Regions from separate parts of the Homo sapiens genome. Here region 2 is linked to region 1. Evidence: promoter capture Hi-C in 16 types of primary human blood cells and fetal thymus (Javierre and others, 2016). All regions are on one chromosome and are shown on one strand. The core of a region is centred on a gene start or on the middle of the fragment in contact, and the rest is flanking DNA. Distances in the headings are between cores, read along the strand shown.

Region 1 (3,362 bases), core at 207-2,706:
GTTCGGGTAAGTAGAGTGCAAGTACTGAAACAATCTCAGAATGATGGTGGTGAAGGAAGGTAAGAGACGGGATTTTAGGCCCAGTGTGACCTGAATTGCTTGCCATCTGTGGGACTTATGTTTTACTTTGCAAAACAGGGTTTATAAGGCCTATGGGGACACATCTCACTGCATTAGGGCCCTTTACTATCATTTAGAGGGGGAAAAAAGCCCAGTTCTTACATCCATTTTCTTTGCTGGGACCTATAAACTTCATTAAGGGTTAAAGAGCACAAGAGCAGGATTTTCACTTCCATGAAAGGTGTGGTGATAAGGGCCCTAGGCTTGGGGGTGGTTCGGAAAGTCAGATCATTTCTCCTACTGCCCTCGGCTTTATTTCTCGGCTATGTGACCTTGGGCAAGTCCCTTCTCTTATCTAGACTTGTTTCACAGGAAATGGCACCAGGCAATTTTAGTGCCCTTCCGTGTCTATGGATAAAACTGAAGACATGTAGTAGGAGATCTCAGGGGCCCACGCCGGCCAGTCCCTCCAATCCTCCGGATTCTAGGTAGTCTAGCTTCCTGGTTGCCAGCCATTACACGGTTTAGCTTTCCGTGCCGGATGGAGCCACAGCGAAGTCTTCCTTAATAGTAAGCGCTTTTAGTCGAGCTAGGCCTTCAGTTTTATTGCCTTCTCTGTCATGGCAGCGCCGCCCCTTCCAGTAGTGCGATACCCAATGAGACTTCAGGTAGGAGAAACGGCACTGTCGCAAGCGCAGGCTCTCGCCGGAATCCCGCCCTTCGCTTGGGCGGGGGAGTGACGCCTGCGCTCCAGGGGAACTACTACTCCCAGCGGGTAGCGCGGCCGACGCAGCCGCGCAGCCTCCGGGGCCAGGCCGTGTGGCCCGCTGGGGACTGGAGTCTCAACGACGCGCACACGAGAAGTAAGGAGCGGAAGGTGGGAAAGGGCCGGAAAACACACGTTCCTCCGAAACCGGTTTGCAAGTCCTTGTAGAGGTAGTTTCGGGACGCGCACTGGCCAAGGGGCGGGCTGTGGGAGGGTGAAGAAAAAAGGGATACACACATGCATACCCACCCACTCATTCATACGCGCCCAGGCCCTGGAAGTGGGCAAGGGGGTTAGAAGGGGCGTACTAAACTAGGCTTGTCCGTGCCTCAGGCGGCACGAGGAAAGGCAGAGGATTCAATTCTGTAGGGGGCAGAGGTGACCATGCGCCGCCTCAAGCGGCGAAGAAGGGAGCCGGGGGCGGGGCAGGGCATAACCGCCGTTCTGGAGGCCGAACGTTGGCAGCGTAGGGAACTGGCGTCCGGGAGGGTCGCCGGAGCAGTCCCTTGCGCATGCGCTTCTTCAGGTGGGCGTGTGTAAGGCGGGGTCGGACGGGGGATGGGAGGGCCGTGCTGCTGGTCGCTCCTCCTCCTCCACCCGCTCTGCCCCTCCTGGACCTTGTGGGCCGGGCAGCCATTTTGGGAAGAGCTTTGTTATGGTTGTGGACTAGCCGCCTCTGCCGGGTCGACAAGCTGGGGACGCGTCCTCAGACGCAGCGTCTAGTCCCTGGCCATAGCTCCGCCGCTGCCCGGTGAGTGGGAGTTTGGGAAACGGGGCAGTAGGAGATCCTGGAGTCGTTCTGGCGCGGGGCTCCGCCCGGTGCCTAACCAACGGGCTGTTAAAACTAGTTGAAAGAAGCTCTCACACAGGTGGTTGGGTATAGGTCCGACCCGAGAGGGGCGAGCGGAGCCCACGGGTCAAGTGGTTCGGATGCGGCACCCCCGCCTCCCCCGTGCATGGAGCTTTGCACGCGAGCGTCGCCGGGGCTCCGCGAAAGCGCTCCTACTTTAACTTCGGTCGTCGGGTCGGAACGCTCACCTGCGGCTCTTTGGCTCCTCTCCAGGCGATCCGGCTTGGTGCTCGTTGAGTGACTTGGCTTACGGGTTTTTTTCTTTCCTTCTTGAAATGAGAGCTAAGGGCTTTTGTTTTCCTTCAAAGGAAAACCTAAGGAGGAAAAAGTGTAAGTCAAATGTTGGATATCTGAGGGGAAAAAAGTTTTAACCCCCAGCTTTCCGGTTCTCTGTGGTAGCGAGGTGTTTTCGCTTAGATTGAGTCTATCCGATATCTACCAACCTCCTTTCCTTGGAGGGGCAGGGAAAGCTGGTCGATCCTGAAATGTTTTAAGTGTTATTTTTTTTCTGTTGTTTTAAATCTAGTTCTCCCCAACCCGTGAAATTCGAAAGACAGTCTGAATCCAAAATGGCTGTAGCTTGGGGAAGTGCCCTGCCCTTCGATTACTTAAATACATTAACGTTTAAAGATTTTAGTCCTTTCCCCTGTGGGGACATTAACTGAATCTTTTGATATTTTGGTTTTTTGCAGTTGGTGTCTCACCTTTAACTCTCCTTATGCTGGGTGAAAACAAAGGTGAGGCTCACAAAGTTGACTATTCCAAAAGTTTACATAAGAATGGGTGCGGTGCGGTGGTGTGTGTGTTTAATAGTTGCTTATAGTTTTGAAATTGTGCTGTGGTGTCAATTTTATCTGCCAACTTCGTGCTCTGAAGTTGGCTTGTCATATTTGTTGAAATATTTTTAACATTGACATTTATTGCTTACCAGAAAAATACAGTTAATAATAGTGGTTCATGTTTTAGTTTAGTAGTAAGTCGTGTTCTTGTGTAAATCTTATCCAAAAGTAAAGTGATTGGTAGTCACTCCTCATTAGACTTATATTTGTAATTTAGTAGACTGCTGATCTTTTCTAAGGTCTTTTTTATCCAATATTTGAAAGGAAATTAGGGTGCTATTAAGTTTGAGATATTTACTAGAATAGTGTAAGACATTTTAACAAGTGAAAACATACTTTAGGTATGGAGTACCTGATTGTCGTGCCCTTTTGAACAAGAGACTGTCTTTTGTTTGCTTTTTTTTTTTAATCGATAGATCCAGAAGTTTAAACAAAAAGTCATAGATTGGAAACCAAAACCAATAAATTTCAATATTTGGAAAGGTGCTGAAGCCTGTATCTATTTAAAAGATAAAAGAGTGAAATGCTAATTGTGAATGAGAACTTTGAAATTAATAGTAAAATAAACTCATCTTTCCTAGGGAGTCAGTTTTCAATGTACCTTTTGACGTTTTTTCAAATACAAAAGTTGGTTTTTGTTAATACCCCTAGGATTTTTTGTTGTTGTTGTTAAATTATTTTGGTGGTTTTACAGGAAAAATATTTAAAGTTTTTAATAGAAATTACAAGCTAGTTGCTTTGTGTTTTGTCACTGTTAACTACTAAACTGGAGTGAGATATTGATTTTTTGGGGGGGTACTCAGTGGTTTGTACATGTTAATATAAACATTCAGTTGATTCTGGATGG
Region 2 (3,362 bases), core at 385-2,884, 560 kb before region 1:
CCATGCCCAGCTAATTTTTTTTGTATTTTTGGTAGAGATGGGGTTTCACCATGTTGCCTGGGTTGGTCTCAAACTCCTGAGCTCAAGCTATCCGCCTACCTTGGCCTCCCAGAATGCTGGGATTACAGGCATGAACCAACATGCCCACCCAACACCATTTTTTAAAGTTCAAAGAACCAATTAAACAATGTATTAGTGATTTTTTTTTTGAGGTGGTCTCACTCTGTTGCCAAGGCTGTATTAGTGATTTTTATATGTATGCTAAAACTATCATAAAAGCAAAAGATGATGGATAAAATTCAAGATAGTGATTACCTCTGGGGATGGGAAAAGGGATTATGGGTTTGACAATGTTCTAGTCCTGGATGATGGGTTCACGGGTGTTTGTGTTTTATAACTTATGTAATATATCTATATTTATCAAGTATTACACAAAACTGTTGTTTTTTTGTTGTTGTTTTGGGGACGGATTTTCACTCTTGTCGCCCAGGCTGGAGTGCAATGGCATGATCTCGGCTCACTGCAACCGCTGCCTCCCGGGTTCAAGTGATTCTCCTGCCTCAGCCTCCCAAGTAGCTGGGATTACAGGCATGCACCACCATGCCTGGCTAATTTTCTCTGTATTTTTAATAGAGACGGGATTTCACCATGTTGGCCAGGCTGGTCTTGAACTCCTGACCTCAGGTGATCCATCCACCTCGGCCTCCCAAAGTGTTGGGATTACAGGCGTGAGCCACTGCGCCTGGCCCAAAACTGTTTTCATTTAGTTGTTTTGTTTTGTTTTTTGTTTTTTGTTTTTTTTTTTTGAGACCGAGTCTCACTCTTGCCCAGGCTGGAGTGCAGTGGCGTGATCTTGACTCACTGCAACCTCGGCCTCCCGGGTTCAAGTGATTCTCATGCCTCACTTGAGTAGCTGGGACTACAGGGGTATGACACCATGCCCAGTTAATTTTTGTATTTTTAGTAGAGACGGGGTTTCACCATGTTGGCCAGGCTGGTCTCAAACTCCTAACCTCAGTTGATCCACCCATCTCAGCCTTCCAAAGTGCTGTGATTACAGGCGTGAACCACCCGACCCGGCCACAAAACCGTTTTTAAATGTTTGCTGAATGCACAAATGACTAATCTCCATTATGTATTCCTACTTTTCCTTCAAAACATTCCTCATAAAGCTTAGTGGAAAAGCTTTGGAGATAGACAGATCTGCTCCACCCACTCTGAGCAAATTACTTAACCCTTCTGAGACTGTTTTCTCATCTTAAAACGTGAGAATTACATGAGGCAATGCACAGAACCTGCCATGGTGGTGATTAAGTTTGACTTTACTAGAGGAAATACATGACTCTGGTACACCTTAAAGTCATATACAGAGTCAGAGTCTGAGCTGACATGAGGATCCTAGTTCCTTTACCCTCCTTTCCTCAGGAATCTGAACCATCTGATATCTGGTGCCCATGTAGCTACTATAAACCAGGCACAAGTCAGGCACACCTCTCTAAGCAGGCCCCAGCAGCTGTGGGCAGGTCCAAAGCCCCTACAGATGTGTGTCTTCTGGCCACTCTAGAAAGCACTGAGGGAGTGTACAGGGACAGGAGTCTACCTAGGCTGAGTGACTGGGCACAGACATACACATGCAGGTTGCAGTTCTGGCTTACATGCTGACTGCTGTCCAGACAAGGTGGTTGATTGGTTAGCTGACTCAAAGGTTTCCGAAAAGGAGACAGGAAACACTCCTGGATCTGGGTCTCACTGCTGGATTTCCGTTTCCTAGGAGTCTAGGAGAGAGAATTGGGAAAGGTGAAGTCTAGAAGACCACAGAAATCACCATAATGGCAACTAACACTTGAAGTGCTTATTAAGTGCCAGGCACTGTGCTAAATTCTTCACACATGTCATAGTGTATCATCTTCATAGCAACTCTATTATGTAGAGTTATTATCCTTATTTAAGAGGTGAGAAAACTAGAGCTTAATGAGATTAAATAACCTGCCTAAACTGAGCGGGGCAATGGAAGAGGTAAATAAAATGGGCCTCTGAAGAGCAAGTCTACCAACAGCATGGAGTCCTGGTGGCCCAAAGCTTCACTCCAAAAGCTCCATGGAATGATGGAGCAACCAAACATTTCGCTGAGTTTCCAAGAGGCAAGAATACAGCTGCCTTCAACTCCCAGGCCACTGAGGCCACTCCCCACTCAGGCCACCCATGGCTGTGAGGACACTGGCACTAAAAGCATCTTCAGAAGCAACCAGCAACTGACAGCAGACCCAGATGCAGAGAATGCTGCCCCAAGTTCAAGTCTGAGACCCATGTACATGGCAAGGGTCAGCCAATGTGCCTCCTTCACAGGTAGAGAAGCCCCTTGCACACCACGGTACAACTATTGAGCAAGCCCCATCAAGCCATTAGGCAAGAACACACTTGTACCAGCTTGCCAGGATATTTGAAGCCTCAGTGATCCTGTAAGACACACCTGAAACAAACACCAGCACCCCTACCCCACACCTTATTCACACACTGCTCCTGCCAAAAAGTGCCTTCTAGTCCTTGCGTAGCTGATCCCTTCCTTCAAAGTTCCAGTGGCCAAGCCCCCACTTCTTGAACTGCTCTTATTCTCTGAAGTCCATGCTGCACTGTCCTATTTATTTTGGTTTACATAGGTCCTGCCCACAGCCAGCCCCAACAAGCCTCCAAAACAGGAAGCAGAGCCCAGGGCCCAACCTAAAGTAGAATATACTGTACTTGAGTATGAGCAAGGACTGGAAGGACACAACCTGTCAGATCTAGGCCCAAGTGAGCCCAGGACTCCAAGGTAGGCCCAGAACACTCTACTGTTCTGTGACACTGGGCAGGGGACAAAGAGCAAAAGAGCCAGCTGCTAATTGCTGTTGTGTAGCCCTTTTTTCCAAGCAGAGTCAAAAGGTCCAATCCAACTGGCTCTTTTGCTTATCTTTTCCCACCAGGAAAACTGAGGCTATATTAGCTTCTAGTGACTACCCTGAGGATAAAGATTTTACTAATCTTGTTCAATGCCTGGCACATAGTAAGTACTCACTAAAAGTTTATTGAACATACAAAAGAGGCATCTGGAATTGGCTATGTAACCCTAGAAACCAAATCCTGGCTTCTTTTCTGTCCAAACAGCTCTACCCACCTTCCCTGTCCCCTTGAGTGCTCACCACTAGGCCAGGTTGCCAGTCTTCATCATCACAGGACCTGCCTTCAGGTTTTCTCTTGGCCAGCTGGCTGGGAGCCAAGCTCCTCCTCTGTAAAGGGAGAACAGAAACAGTGCCTGCAAGGATCCTGCAGCCTAGGCCTACTAGACCCTGACCCAGGGCTATTCCCAGTCTCCCCTAGGCCCACAC

Evidence for each region. Contacts are between HindIII fragments. The CHiCAGO score rates a contact against its expected background, and 5 or more counts as called.
Region 2: a fragment that was not itself captured here is called in contact with the fragment with the promoter of GPBP1L1 in region 1 in 1 of 17 cell types (fetal thymus); the score reaches 6.3 in fetal thymus.

The regions. Positions count from the first base shown.
Region 1 is chr1:45,684,627-45,687,988 of GRCh38, reverse strand. It overlaps GPBP1L1 (GC-rich promoter binding protein 1 like 1), which reads left to right and starts at 1,456. Exons shown (of 13, transcript NM_021639.5): 1 at 1,456-1,577; 2 at 2,369-2,413. RefSeq lists enhancers at 816-1,145, 1,166-1,285, 1,356-1,405, 1,466-1,615, 1,242-1,840. The HindIII fragment of the contact is 19,533 bases long and covers 1-3,362 here.
Region 2 is chr1:46,248,413-46,251,774 of GRCh38, reverse strand. RAD54L (RAD54 like) reads right to left here. Exons shown (of 18, transcript NM_003579.4): 2 at 3,177-3,263; 3 at 1,656-1,775. Among named protein-coding and RNA genes, the nearest start is that of RAD54L, 2.3 kb to the right of the region's middle. The HindIII fragment of the contact is 894 bases long and covers 1,188-2,081 here.